Regions from separate parts of the Homo sapiens genome. Here all the other regions are linked to region 1. Evidence: promoter capture Hi-C in human tissues and cell types (Jung and others, 2019). All regions are on one chromosome and are shown on one strand. The core of a region is centred on a gene start or on the middle of the fragment in contact, and the rest is flanking DNA. Distances in the headings are between cores, read along the strand shown. Region 1 holds the start of APEH (acylaminoacyl-peptide hydrolase). Region 2 overlaps QRICH1 (glutamine rich 1). Region 3 holds the start of P4HTM (prolyl 4-hydroxylase, transmembrane). Region 4 holds the start of USP19 (ubiquitin specific peptidase 19). Region 5 overlaps LOC124909377 (a long non-coding RNA gene).

Region 1 (2,700 bases), core at 111-2,610:
ACTCTCTGCTCAGCAGTCTGTGGACATGGGGTAGCACAGGTCAGGATTATCTTGCAATAACCCCTTCCTGCTCCCTACTGGGCACACCTCTTAGGAGAGATTCTTGAGGCTCTGGCCCCACACCAGCTTCTGGAGCACCTCTAGCCCCACCTTGCCTTTCCTCCCTGAGGCAGAGACTCTACTCTCTGCAACTCCCCAGGCCACCATGGGCTCTAGTCCAGGCTGAGTTTGGAGCAAGCTTCCAGTGCTTATCAGGCCATGTCACCAGAAACTGAATGAGCTCCCAAGGGGGCAAGAACCTGGCTGCTGGCCTCCCTTCTAGGCACATGGTGAGCATTCATAAAAGGCTTGCATTGCGGACGGCTGTGGCCTTGCCCACAAGCTTCCTCCCTCAAACTTACTCCCCCCGGGTCTCCACACTGTTGCCTGCAGGTCCTGCAAACACCACTGAGTCCCCGTCATGGAACACCAGGTATTGGCGGCAGAATCGAATGTTCTCCATGCGTTCCAGGTCCCTCTGGGTCCACTCTGTGAGGGGAGGCATGAGACTGCTCACCTTGTCTTGGCTACTCCTGGCTACTGCCCCCAGCCCCACCTGACCCAGGAAGGCCTAGATCTATCTTCCCCAATCTCTCAATCTGTCTCCAGACACTGACACCCTGGCTGCAGGCTGGACAACACTTGGCCACAACCCTAGTCCAGGCCTCCAGAGCCTGAGCTGACAGCCTCTTTGAGAGAACCCCCTAGTAACCCCAGCATCCACCCTGGAATCTTGAGGGCAGCCTGGCATGTGTATGGGATGGCGTGTTGGTGGAGAGCCCTACAAGGTCCACGCCCTGAGCCCAGGTTTGACTTCTACCCCTACGCCGTCATCTCGTGCACTCATGGCCGCCATTCGATAACGCCCCGCACGCCCCCTCCCCCCCTCCACACACCTGTGTGCAGGGACCTGTGGGAGTGTAACCTCCAAGTCCAGGCCGGCTCCCTATATACCCTTACGCACTGTCAAGCAGCGAGCCCTCCACACCCCCTTCCTTCCCACCCCAGTGCGCGACCCCGTCGCCAGCCAGTTCCCCTTCGCACACACACCAGTGTGCACCGTCCGGTATTGGCCGCCGTACTGCGTGGTGACCTCCGGGCCCAGGCAGGCGGCGCTCAGCGCGGGCTGGCGGCTAAGGCCCCGATACAGAGCCGCCGCCTCCTCGGGCTCGCTCAGCAGCACCTGCGCAGGGGACACACCAGGGTCAGGCCCGGCCCGGGCTGCAGGGACCACGGGGACCGCGGGCCGAGCCCTCACCTGACGTTCCATAGTCTCCTCTCTGCCGCCGGGGCGAGGCGGGGCGTGCTCGCGCCCGGAAGTGAGGCTTCCGGGGGCGGAGCCTGGGACGGCCCGGGCTGTCTCCGCCCCTGCCCTGCGGCAATCTGTGAGGGGCGGGGCCTTCGGCTAATGGGTGAGGACCGTTGGCAGGGGGCGGGCCTTGACGGTGAGAGGACCCGGCCTGGGAGCGAGAAGTCCTGGGTGGGTGAGAGCAGGGGTCTCGCCAGGGGCGGACTAGCCAAGTGGGGGGCGGGGCCGTGGGCTGAGTCCTGGGCCTCTTACCGAGGGGCGAGGCGTTGGATCTCGGAGGAGAGGGGGCGGCCCTGTGGAAGCGGAACCCGGGAGCCCGGCTTCGGGGAGGGTAGAAGGGCCTACGAGAGAAGGGGTTGAGGGGGTGCTGCAAGGCGGAAGCAGCGCGGTCGGACGGGCATGGCCCAAGCACGCGAAGGGCGGGGCCCGAGGGGAATGGGACCAATGAGTCTTTGAGGATGAAGGGCAAGGCGGGCGGGTCCGGATTGGAGCCCTGCGAGGAATGTGGAGCCGGGAGCCTGTGAGCGTGAGCGTGAGCGTGAGCGTGAGCGTGAGCGTGAGGGTGAGGGTTGGGCGGGGCGGAGCCGGCCGCAGCGTGGATCTCCCGCGGCTCTGGGGCTGACTGTAGGGTTCCTTCGGGTCCACCACGAGGCCGACATTCACTACACAGTGCCAGGCCCTGCCCTGGAGGGAGTTCCACGCAGACGAAGAAGAGAAGGGCCAGGGTCCGGGCGGAGGGCGCGAAGCAAAGCCCTGGGGTGCGGGGCAGAGGGGCGGGTGCCAACTCTTAGGGTGCTGCCCGGACTTATCAGTCGCCAGGCCTGCCGCAAGAGCTATCTATCCCCGCAGCCTTTACCCAGCCTTCTCAGTGGCACCTTGTTGGGGACCGTGAGCTGGTGGGTCCCTGCCTTCCTCCCCAGGCCTCACCCTGAGCTCTTGGGTGTGAAAGGCCTGGTGGGCTCAGACTCCACCCAGGACCAGGGAGCTTCCTGTGGAAAAAACCTAGGCAGGCAGGTTCCCTGTGCACGTGGTACAGGATTGGCTGGGCTAAGGTGCCAACAGAGATCAGGAGAGGCTGGACAGTAAGGATGTTCCCTCCATATACCTGAGTCTGGCTGGTCTTCCACATTCAGGGCCCTGGCTCCCTGCTCCATGGCGTGCTTGTGATTGAGAGTCCACTTGTCTGGCCTGTAGCTTCCCCTTTCCCATCAGCCGCATCATTACTTACTCAAGATAACTAGTTAAGTAAAAAAAAAAAAAAAAAAAAAAAAAAAAGTCCCGGCCGGCCGGGCGCGGTGGCTCACGCCTGTAATCCCTGCACTTTGGAAGGCCGAGGCGGGCGGATCACGAGG
Region 2 (2,700 bases), core at 35-2,534, 590 kb after region 1:
TAAGTCTTTTACTTGGAGCTAATTAAGAATCTTTTGTCTCTTTTAGAAGTTTCTCCATTTCTCTTTATTACGAAGGCTCAACTTTTGTGTCTTATGTGCAGCATCTTGAAGTTAAGTCTTCATTATTTTGTACAAGTTTTTGGTATTTTATGGTTTAGTTTCTTTTTCTTTTTTTTTTTTTTGAGATGGAGTTTTGCCCTTGTTGCCCAGGCCGGAGTGCAGTGGCATGGTCTTGGCTCACTGCAACCTCCACCTCCCAGGTTCAAGCGATTCTCCTGTCTCAGCCTTCCGAGTAGCTGGGATTACAGGCACGTGTCACCACACCTGGCTAATTTTTTTTGTATTTTTAGTAGAGGCGGGGTTTCATCATGTTGGTCAGGCTGGTCTCAAACTACTGACCTCAGGTGATCCACCCACCTCGGCCTCCCAAAGTGCTGGGATTACAGGTATGAGCCACCTCGTTCGGCAGGTTTAGTTTCTTTCAGATTTTGAAAGAAAATCGTACTATGATCAACCAGAATTACGTGTCTGTTACCATTACTACACTATAACCACTTGTATTTTTAGTAGAGATGGGGTTTCACCGTGATAGCCAGGATGGTCTCGATCTCCTGACCTGGTGATCCGCCTGCCTCGGCCTCCCAAAATGCTGGGATTACAGGCATGAGCCACCTCTTTCGGCCGGTTTAGTTTCTTTCAGATTTTGAAAGAAAATCATACTATGATCAGCCAGAATTATGTGTCTTACCATTACTACACTATAGCCACTGTGTAGAAAAAGATGATTTTTTTTTTTTTGAGACGGAGTCTTGCTCTGTCGCCCAGGCTGGAGTGCAGTGGCACGATCTTGGCTCACTGCAAGCTCCACCTCCCAGATTCACACCATTCTCCTGCCTCAGCCTCCCGAGTAGCTGGGACTACAGGCGCCCAACACCACACCCGGCTAATTTTTTTGTATTTTTAGTAGAGACGGGGTTTCACCGTGATAGCCAGGATGGTCTCGATCTCCTGATCTGGTGATCTGCCTGCCTCGGAAAGTGCTGGGATTACAGGCGTGAGCCTTAGATTAATACCACTTGTGGAAAATTCAGAAGAGTGTTTAACAGAAGAAACTTAATTACTCTGTGGTTCCATCATCTAGGCATAACTACTGTTAGCATTCCTTTTTATCATTTTTTGAGGTGGAGTCTCACTCTTTCCCCAGGCTGAAGTGCAGTGGCGCAGTCTCAGCTCACTACAACCTCCGCCTCCCGGATTCAAGCAATTCTCCTGCCTCAGCCTCTAGAGTAGCTGGGATTACGGGTGGCTGCCACCATGCCCTGTTAGTTTTTGTATTTTTAGTGGAGATGGGGTTTCACCATGTTGGCCAGGCTGGTCTCACAATCTTGGCTGGATGTGATGGCTCACGCCTGTAATCCTAGCACTTTGGGAGACCGATGCTGTGGATCGCTTGAGGTCAGGAGTTTGAGTACATCCTGACCAACATGGCGAAATCCCGTCTCTACTAAAATACAAAAATTAGCTGGGCATGGTGGCGGGTGCCCGTAATCCCAGCCACTTTGGAGGCTGAGGCAGGAGAATTGCTTGAACCTAGGAGGCGGAGGTTTCAGTGAGCCAGGATCGTGCCACTACGCTCCAGCCTGGGCGACAGAGCAACACTGTGTCTCAATAAAAATAAAAATAAAAAAGAATTTAGGCTGGGTGTGGTTGCTCATGCCTGTAATCCCAGCACTTTGGAAGGTGGAAGCGAGTGGATTACCTGAGGTTAAGAGTTCGAGACCAGCCTGGCCAACATGGCAAAACCTCATCTCTACTAAAAATATAAAAATTAGCCGGATGTGGGCCGGGTGCGGTGGCTCATACCTGTAATCCCAGCACTTTGGGAGGCTGAGGCGGGTGGATCATGAGTTTAGGAGTTCAAGACCAGCTTGGCCAAGATGGTGAAACCCTGCCTCTACTAAAAATACAAAAATTAGCCAGGCACGGTGGCAGGTGCCTGTAATCCTAGCTACTCGGGAGGCTGAGGCAGGAGAATCGCTTGAACCTGGGGGGCACGGAGGTTGCAGTGAGCCAAGATTGTGCCTCCTGGGTTCAAGCGATTCTCCTGCCTCAGCCTCCCAAGTAGCTGGGACTACAGGTATGCAGCACCACACCTGGCTAATTTTTTTTTTTTGAGATGGAGTCTCACTCTGTCACCCAAGCTGGAGTGCAGTGGCATGATCATAGCTCATTGCAGGCTCAAACTGCTGGGATCAAGCCATCCTATCCTCCTGCCTCGGCCTCCCAAGTAGCTGGGACTACAGGCGAGAACCACCATGCCAAGCTTAGTATTGATATTTTCTAATGGTTTTATGGAATTTTTCCTACCTCAAGCTTGTTTGTCTTTTAAATTATTACTATTATTTCTAAGAGATGGGATCTCACTGTGGTGCCCAGGTTGGAGTGCTGTGGCTATCCACAGACAGGATTCTACTACTGCAGTATGGAAGTTTTGACCTGCCCCATTTCCAACCTGGGGTGGTTCACCCCTCTTTAGGCAACCTGGTGATTCCCTGCTCCCTTGAAGTCACCATATTGATGCTGAACTTAGTGTGGACACCCGATTGGCATAGAGCACTATAGCCCAGAACTCCTGGACTACTCAAGCAATCCTCCTGTTTCAGTCTCTTGAGTAGCTGGGACTGCAGGCATGCACCATCA
Region 3 (2,707 bases), core at 200-2,699, 680 kb after region 1:
GAGGCAGGCTATGTGGGTTCTAATCCTAGCTTCACCACTGAAGTAACCGTGTCAGCCTGGCCAAGCCACAGCAGCTCTCTGTCCCTAACTTTCCCCCTCACTGGCCTGAGTAGGATCTACACCCACTTCACAGAGGGGTTGCAGGAATTAAATGAAATAATCATATGAAGGCAAGCACATAACTAGAGCTCAGAAACGATGAGCTATGTTGTGGCTCCAACTGGAGTCACCCTAGAAAGCTTTGCCCATGATGGCTGAACAAAGACTTCACCTTAAGAAGAATCTCAGAGTGCTGGCAGCAAAAGCTGAGCCTCTGACTGGTACTCCAGTGGAGGAGGCTGGGGGGGTACCAGTTTATCTACATTTGGACGGCCTGCTTCTCATCAGACCACAAGGCCCACTTCGGCAGTGGGATTTTCCCCAGAGGTCCTGAGGTCGGCAGAAAGCTGGTTATCAGTCTCCCACCTTCCTCCCAGTTCTAGAAGGTGACAGAATTAATGGTGGCACGGAAGACAGGTGCAATGAAACGTTTAGACACCAGCCTCAGGCTCACCCTGCCAGCCCTGTGATGGAAGAATGGACTGCAGGGAGTTGGGATAAGAGGGAGTGTTACCCTATTTCGAGGACGGGGAAGGTCCTTCACTTTGGTAATCCTCTGGAAGGGCTGCTCTGAAGCAGCCATTTTCAAAATAGAGGTCACGTGGTCACAACGAGCCTCAAGGTGGCCACCAAACCGCAGCCCCTGGCCCTTCCCAGGAGTATCTGGCGGACTTACCGAAGAGCAGCGGCTTGAGGCTGAGGGTTCGGATGAAGTGATCCCTGTCGGTGACCAGCTGGACCTTACGCTCGTGCCCCACCTAAGGAAAAGGCGCACAGCGGGCAGCTGGGGCGCCAGACCGCGCTGCCCAAGAAGGGCCAAGTCGCCCCGGCCCGGAGAGCGACAGCAGGCGAGTGAGTGGGAGCGCGCGGGACCGACGCAGAGCAGCGCCGGGGGCAGCGTGGGGACCCGGGCTGAGCGCCGGTCCTCTCGGGCTCAGCCGTGCAGGGCCTGGAGCGCGGCGGGGCAGGGAGGTCCTCACCTTGATGCCCTCCAGCCGGGTGAGGGGACCTAAGGTGGGCTCGGGCCCGGGGCCCTGGGCACGGTGTTGGGGCCCGGGATCGCTGCTTTCGTCGCCGTTGCTGTAGTGCACGAAGAGCAGCAGCGCCAGCACGTTACCCAGGTACAGGTGCACGAACACCATCAGCACCAGGAAGTAGGCGCGCGAGCAGATGCCGCGGGGCTTGCACAGCGGACGCACCGGTGCGTCCTCGCCGTCGCCCAGCCCGGCCGCCGCCTGAGCCTGGCAGTGGTCTGGCGGCGCCCACTGCGGCCTCGAGGCCTCCTCGGCCGCCGCGGTCTCAGGCCGCTGGCCTGTCACCGCCGCTGCCGCCATGGCACCCAGGTCGCGCGCGCGCCCAGGGGAGGGGCCGCGGGGGTGCCCGCGCTGCGCAGTCGCCCGGACAACGGCCGCCAGGCCCGCGAGCGCCGCGGTCACTAGGAGACGGTGCCTGGGGGTGCTGAGCCCGCCCGGAGCCGCCTGCGTCCGCGCCGGGCTCGGCCTTCCTGCGCCTTGAGCCCCAGCCCACGCTGGGGCTTCTCTTCCCAAGCTGGGTTGCCGTCGGGCAGAGCTGTACACTCTCCAAGTCAGAAGCCAAGGTCCCAAGCGTAGACGCGGACAAGAGCGGCACCATTAAGGCATACACTAGTGGGAGCTTCTCGGTGCCTGCGTGAAGACGCCCTCTTGCCTCCGGGAAAAGTATCGTCTGCATCTTCTTGCTCCAGGAGCGGGGGTGGGGAGCGCAGCGCGGAGGAGGCAGCGCTGAGATGACTCAACAGTGCGGCATTTGGGGGCGCCGCGGAGGCTGGGACTGCGTAAGCGGCGATAGGGTAGGACCCACAGCCTCCTCGCAGGCATTCTTGGAGCTCGGTTCCGCGGTCGGTCCGGATCTCCCGGGAAGTCTCGCCGGAGTCAGGCAGGCCTTAGGAAGAAGCTGCCTGATGTGCAAGGTTTCATAGGCCGTCAGAGGGGGCATCCTGGAGGAGCCCTGGCATCAGGAAAGTGAGCCCCCCATGGCAGCCCGCAGGAATGAACCAGTGCTCAGGTATATGGAACACTCCTTGCATCAAAGCTGGCACGTGTGAAGAGGCGGGAAGGGACTCTTCCATAACTGAGACACCATTACCTCAGAGAAAAATTAAACAGATTATCACCAAAAACGGGGGTGGGGGGAGGACATACCTACCAGTGGTCAAGTGCCAAGGCATCCCTGCTCTTCTAGAGCTGGTTATCCTCAGGAAGAGATTACTACACGCCCTCAGGGCAGAAGCTGACCCCCCTCCCCGAGGTGGACTTGCAGGCAAGAGCAACACTTTTAAGGCAGGTCACACTGGTGGTTTCTCCCTACCCTGGTTAAGACCCCCACTACCTCTACTCCCATCTCCTCTCCCTTCCCCATAGCAAAGCATAGTCTGCATTTTCTAGTCCCCTCAAGTCAAGGCAGGCCAGGGGCTCCAAGGGCAGGCCCACCTCTTTCTTCTAAGATTTTTTGTGTGTGTGTGACGGAGTCTCACTCTGTCGCCCAGGCTGGAGTGCAGTGGCGCGATCTTGGCTCACTGCAACCTCTGCCTTCCGGGTTCAAGCAATTCTCCTGCCTCAGCCTACCAAGT
Region 4 (2,700 bases), core at 55-2,554, 550 kb after region 1:
GGTTTTGATACCTCCAGGTTCTGATTCCCCCTTCTCCCCAGGAGCTGGGCTGAGGATGAGAAACAGAAGGCAGAGACAGTACAGGCAGCACTGGAGGAGGCCCAGCGGGCACAGGGTATTGCCCAGGGTGCCATCCGGGGGGCAGTGGCTGACACACGGGACACAGAGCAGACCCTGTACCAGGTGAGGTCTTCCTAGGACATCAGTGGGACAAGGTTATGGGCATGAACCGTAGATCTGTGTAACCTTTGGCTCACCCATGGCAGGTACAGGAGAGGATGGCAGGTGCAGAGCGGGCACTGAGCTCTGCAGGTGAAAGGGCTCGGCAGTTGGATGCTCTCCTGGAGGCTCTGAAATTGAAACGGGCAGGAAATAGTCTGGCAGCCTCTACAGCAGAAGAAACGGCAGGCAGTGCCCAGGGTCGTGCCCAGGAGGCTGAGCAGGTGGGTTGAGGCAGAGCCAGCTGGAGAAGGTAGGGGTGGAAGATGGGCCTCCACTGAGCTACCACGCTAACCTAACCCTCTACATCTGCAGCTGCTACGCGGTCCTCTGGGTGATCAGTACCAGACGGTGAAGGCCCTAGCTGAGCGCAAGGCCCAAGGTGTGCTGGCTGCACAGGCAAGGGCAGAACAACTGCGGGATGAGGCTCGGGACCTGTTGCAAGCCGCTCAGGACAAGCTGCAGCGGCTACAGGGTAAGAAATGGGGCACCAGAGACACAAGACTGCGGGAAACCCCCCCTAAACTGACACCTGCCCTTCCTAGAATTGGAAGGCACCTATGAGGAAAATGAGCGGGCACTGGAGAGTAAGGCAGCCCAGTTGGACGGGTTGGAGGCCAGGATGCGCAGCGTGCTTCAAGCCATCAACTTGCAGGTGCAGATCTACAACACCTGCCAGTGACCCCTGCCCAAGGCCTACCCCAGTTCCTAGCACTGCCCCACATGCATGTCTGCCTATGCACTGAAGAGCTCTTGGCCCGGCAGGGCCCCCAATAAACCAGTGTGAACCCCCACTGTGTTGTCTGGACTCTGATTTGGGGCGGGCGGGGGAGTCTCCAGGGGAACCTCGAGGTTGCCCCCAGCAGAACCCATGCACCGCTAAGCCACCCGAGCACCGCCTCCTTCCGCTCGGGCCCGCCCCGGAGCTGCGGGTCGCTCCGAGCCCATTCCCGCCGGAAGTGCGTCACCAGCTTGGCGCTCCGCCTCCCTCGGCCTTAGCTAGAAGTCGAAACAAAACAAGCCGCTAAGGCGGTGGCGGCGGCGCCGGGACGGGGGAGGGGCGCGCCGGAACCGGAACCGACCTGCGCCGGAACCGGAACGGAGAGCGGGTTGCCAGGGCCCGAAGAGGGCTGGCTGCGGCGGTCTCGCTCGGTGAGTGGAGCAGGCTGCAACTCGCTGGCTTGGCCGCAGCGGGGAGGCCGCAACGCGCGGCCGCGGCGGCCTGTTCAAGGTCACGGGCCGTGCCAGTCCCTACCCCTAGTGCCCCGCAGCGTGCCAGCCCACTGATGCCGGCAGGGCCGTTACGCTATGCCTGTGGCCAGCCTCCCACCTGGGAGAGGACTGGCGGCCAGCGAGGGCAACTTCGTGGGAGAGGTGGTGGCGGGCTCGGGGTTCAGAGGCTGAAGCTGGGTCGCAGCTCGACCGGGGCGCTGATCTGTGGTCAGTAACCCCGCGCTGCCATTTCAGGCCGGCTCGGGTCTCTAAACAGCCCCTTACCCGCCTCGACGTCCCTGGGGCATGGGGGAGGGACGCGACCTTCGGCTGGGGCCTGGGTGCAAGAAGGAGGCGCCGGTGGCAGGTGTCATTAAAGATCCAGCCCACCAGTACCACATCTGACCTGTAGAAGGGTATCCTGCCATCCCTCCTTCCTCCTTTACACACTTAGGGGAACACAGACTAGTCATTATCTGTCCTGCTACTGGTTCAGGCCAGGCTTGAGGCTGCCAGGAGTCCTGGATCTGTGGTCCTCCCCAGCCTCATCTCAGTATCTAGTTTCAAGACCTTCATTTTGGAGGAGGAAACAGTCCAGAATCCACTGGTGGGTCTGTGGGAAACTGTAGTGGTCCTTGTGGCTCAGAGCTCATGAGTGAAGGCATCTGGGAAGGAAGGTGATAATTTCTGTTCCAGTCTCAAACTGGATGCCCATCCTGCCTTAGTACTGGAGCAGGGTTGCTGCTGAAGAGGTAGCGTGACATCTAGATACACTTTTCAGTCCCTTTCTGCTTGGGACAGCAGCTGGGGAGAGGACTTTCTCTTGAAATGAAGAAGGACCAAGCAGTACATAGGAGCAGGTTCTTGCCAAGGGTGGGAGCTGGCAGGAGGCAGGTGGAGTGCCTTAGCCCCAGGACTTTTTCTGGGCAATGGTAGAACCTGGGTTGAGCCTGTTTACAGCCACAGAGCCTGGTTCTCCTGCGGCTTGTCTCCTGTCCTGCCTTCCTCCTCCACCTTCTATTTCTCCAGTGGTGACTAAGCAGCCAGTGAGAGTGAAGGAAAAGTGAGCACCCTGCTCGGAGTGCCAGCCCTGTGGGCTGGAGCCGTGGCTCCTCTCCAGATTGGTGGAGTAGCCTGGTCCCAGGCCATGACTTCCTTGACCTGGTGCCCCCTCAGTGAGGCTTTCACCTGTGTGGGACTGTTATGGTGGGTATCTATGAGGCTTGGCCAGAAGTGGTTGCTGCTACTTGCATTATTTATTACCTCTTC
Region 5 (2,700 bases), core at 62-2,561, 540 kb after region 1:
GTTTTTGTATTTTTAATAGAGACGGGATTTCACCATGTTAGCCAGGATGGTCTCAATCTCCTAACCTCGTGATCTGCCCGCCTCAGCCTCCCAAAGTGCTGGGATTACAGGCGTGAGCCACCGTGCTCAGCCCCTTCAGACATTTTTTTTTGAGACGGGCTCTCACTCTGTCACCCAAGCTGGAGTGCAGTGGCACAATCTTGGCTCATTGCAGTCTCAACCTTCCAGGCTCAAGGGATCCTCCCGCCTTATCTCCTGAGGAGCTGGGACCACAGGTGTGCCCCACCATGTCCAGCTAATTTTTGTATTTTTTGTAGAGATGGGGTTTTTCCATGTTGCCCAGGCTGGTCTTGAACTCCTGAGCTCAAGTGATCCACCCACCTTAGCCTCCCACAGACCTATTATTTTTTCAGAAATAGGGTCTCATGGGTCAGGCACAGTGGCTCACGCCTGTAATCCCAACACTTTGGGAGGCCGAGGCGGGTAGATCATGAGGTCAGGAGTTTAAGACCAGCCTAGCCAATATGGTGAAACCCCGTCTCTACTAAAAATACAAAAAAAAAAAAATTAGCCAGGCATGTTGGCGGTTGCCTGTAGTCACAGCTGCTCAGGAGGCTGAGGCAGGAGAATTGCTTGAACCTGGGAGGTGAAGGTTGCAGTGAGACGAGATCGCACCACTACACTTACAGAGCGAGACTCTGTCTCACAAAAAAAAAAAAAGGAAAAGAAATAGGGTCTCACTCTGTCACCTGGGCTGGAGTACAGTGGCATGATCTTAGCTCACTACAGCCTCAACCTCCCAGGTTCAAGTGATCCTCCCACCTCATCCTGCTGAGTAGCTGAGACTACAGCACACGCCGCCACACCTGGCTAATTTTTAAATTTTTTTGTAGAGACAGGATCTCCCTATGTTGCTCAGGCTGGTCTCAAACTCCTGAGCTCAAGTGATCCTCCTGCCTCAGCCTCCCAAAGTGGTGGGGTTACAGGTGTGAGTCACTGCACCTGGCCCATCCTTCAGGTCTCTCGAAGGTAAGGCTAGAGCTAGTGTCATCTGCTCTCTACCCTGACCCTATCTCTCCTCTGCAGCCTGTGCCTGTGACCCACAGGGCTCCATCTTGCCCAGCTGTGATTCACACATGGGCACCTGCTTCTTCAGAGAGGGCATCTTAGGGCTGAGGTGCCAGGCATGTGCTCATGGCTCCAGAGGTGCCTTCCCACACTGCACCTCCTGTCCCACCTGCTTCACCTTCTGAGACCAACTCCTGGCTCTGCTCCCACTGCAGCTGGAAGCTGTGGCCCAAGAGGTGGCCACCCTATGCTAGGGGATGCCTGGTGGGGGTGTTAGGGGCCAGGGTGGACACCTGCAGGTCCTAGATTGGGTACTGTAGCAGGCACAGGCTGCTCCCTCCAACCTGGGACCCTGCCCACTGTTCAGTGGGCTCTTGTTGCCTTCCACAACTCCTCCCATAGCCTGGACATAGAGTCACAGCCTTGGAGCAGCATCAACAACAGGTACACAGCCAGGGGGACTGTGGGTGGGAGCCATGGGGGAGTCACAGGAAACCATGGCTTGGACATGGTGTTGTAGGCAACATATTCCACATCTGACCCACGCCCACCAGCTGCAGCAAATCCAGGCCATAGCAAGCTCCACAGGAATCCAGGCACAGGAGACATGGTATTGGGAAAGGGGACCTTGGGGCATGACTGCCATGACCCACATGCAAGCAGCCGTGCAGATCATCCAGCGCTTCCTCATGGGTACATATCTGCTTGTTGCATGTCTGTTCACAGCCAAGGGCAGGGTTAATAGGGTATGCAGGACACTATCATGATACTCCTTCCAGAATGAGGAATATTCATCAGGGCTGACCAGGGGTCAAGTGGGAACACTAGTGTGTGCGTAAATTTTTTTTTTTTTTTTGAGAGGGAGTCTTGCTCTGTCACCCAGGCTGGAGTGCAGTGGTGCAATCTCGGCTCACTGCAACCTGCGCCCCCCGGGTTCAAGCGATTCTCCCACCTCAGCCTCCCAAGTAGCTGGGATTACAGGCACACTGTAATTTTTTTTTGTATTTTTAGTAGAGACGGGGTTTCACCATCTTGGCCAGGCTGGTCTTGAACTCCTGACCTCATGATCCACCCGCCTTCGCCTCCCAAAGTGCTGGGATTACAGGCGTGAGCCACCGCATCTGGCCATGTGTGTAGATAAATTTTTAACAACTGGCTGTGAGTCAGGGGAAACTGATTTTTAGCATTTGTCAATATCCATGATGTAAGTAATGCTATCATGATTGATTTCAGTCCATACCATTTGACAACTTATTTGCAAAATTCCTGAAAATTTAACAATTGGCTCTTTTTATTTTAGTATTATTATTATTATTTTTGAGAGGGAGAGTCTCGCTCTGTCACCCAGGCTGGAGTGCAGTGGCGTGATCTCGGCTCACCACAACCGCCACCTCCTGGGTTCAAGCGATTCTCCTGCCTCAGCCTTCTGAGTAGCTGGGATTACAGGCACCCGCCACCACATCCAGCTAATTTTTGTTATTTTTAGTAGAGATGAGTTTTCACTACATTGGCCAGGCTGGTCTCAAACTCCTGACCTTGTAATCTGCCTGCCTTGGCCTCCCAAAGTGCTGGGATTACCCTTTTTTTATTATCATTTTATTTTTTATTTTTTTTAGAGACAGAGTCTCGCTC

Evidence for each region. The method cuts DNA at HindIII sites, captures the fragments that hold promoters and counts their contacts. A contact is called where the count stands out against the background at its distance.
Region 2: a contact is called between a fragment that was not itself captured here and the fragment with the promoter of APEH in region 1, in 1 of the 25 tissues and cell types used here (bladder).
Region 3: a contact is called between the fragment with the promoter of P4HTM here and the fragment with the promoter of APEH in region 1, in 1 of the 25 tissues and cell types used here (aorta).
Region 4: a contact is called between the fragment with the promoter of USP19 here and the fragment with the promoter of APEH in region 1, in 1 of the 25 tissues and cell types used here (spleen).
Region 5: a contact is called between a fragment that was not itself captured here and the fragment with the promoter of APEH in region 1, in 3 of the 25 tissues and cell types used here (dorsolateral prefrontal cortex, lymphoblastoid cells and mesenchymal stem cells).

The regions. Positions count from the first base shown.
Region 1 is chr3:49,673,011-49,675,710 of GRCh38, reverse strand. It overlaps APEH (acylaminoacyl-peptide hydrolase), which reads right to left and starts at 1,360. Exons shown (of 22, transcript NM_001640.4): 1 at 1,298-1,360; 2 at 1,090-1,222; 3 at 402-528; 4 at 1-17. The coding sequence starts at 1,309. It also overlaps a transcript of BSN not described here. RefSeq lists a silencer at 1,066-1,675. The HindIII fragment of the contact is 11,571 bases long and covers 1-2,700 here.
Region 2 is chr3:49,083,241-49,085,940 of GRCh38, reverse strand. All of the region lies in intron 1 of QRICH1 (glutamine rich 1), which reads left to right. It also overlaps the pseudogene RN7SL182P. Among named protein-coding and RNA genes, the nearest start is that of QRICH1, 9.5 kb to the left of the region's middle. The HindIII fragment of the contact is 6,032 bases long and covers 1-2,700 here.
Region 3 is chr3:48,988,983-48,991,689 of GRCh38, reverse strand. It overlaps P4HTM (prolyl 4-hydroxylase, transmembrane), which reads right to left and starts at 1,449. Exons shown (of 9, transcript NM_177939.3): 1 at 1,080-1,449; 2 at 776-857. The coding sequence starts at 1,433. It overlaps LOC124909376 (a long non-coding RNA gene), which reads left to right and starts at 1,818. Exons shown (of 2, transcript XR_007095903.1): 1 at 1,818-2,142. RefSeq lists enhancers at 477-1,038, 1,696-1,855, 1,603-2,165, 2,166-2,707 and a silencer at 1,206-1,585. The HindIII fragment of the contact is 19,056 bases long and covers 1-2,707 here.
Region 4 is chr3:49,119,427-49,122,126 of GRCh38, reverse strand. It overlaps USP19 (ubiquitin specific peptidase 19), which reads left to right and starts at 1,304. Exons shown (of 27, transcript NM_001199161.2): 1 at 1,304-1,371. It overlaps LAMB2 (laminin subunit beta 2), which reads left to right. Exons shown (of 32, transcript NM_002292.4): 29 at 42-183; 30 at 267-443; 31 at 535-694; 32 at 765-1,013. The coding sequence ends at 901. RefSeq lists enhancers at 27-1,015, 1,016-2,005 and a silencer at 1,124-1,443. The HindIII fragment of the contact is 6,360 bases long and covers 803-2,700 here.
Region 5 is chr3:49,136,758-49,139,457 of GRCh38, reverse strand. The region is part of intron 1 of LOC124909377 (a long non-coding RNA gene); the gene reads right to left. Among named protein-coding and RNA genes, the nearest start is that of LAMB2, 5.1 kb to the right of the region's middle. The HindIII fragment of the contact is 9,716 bases long and covers 1-2,700 here.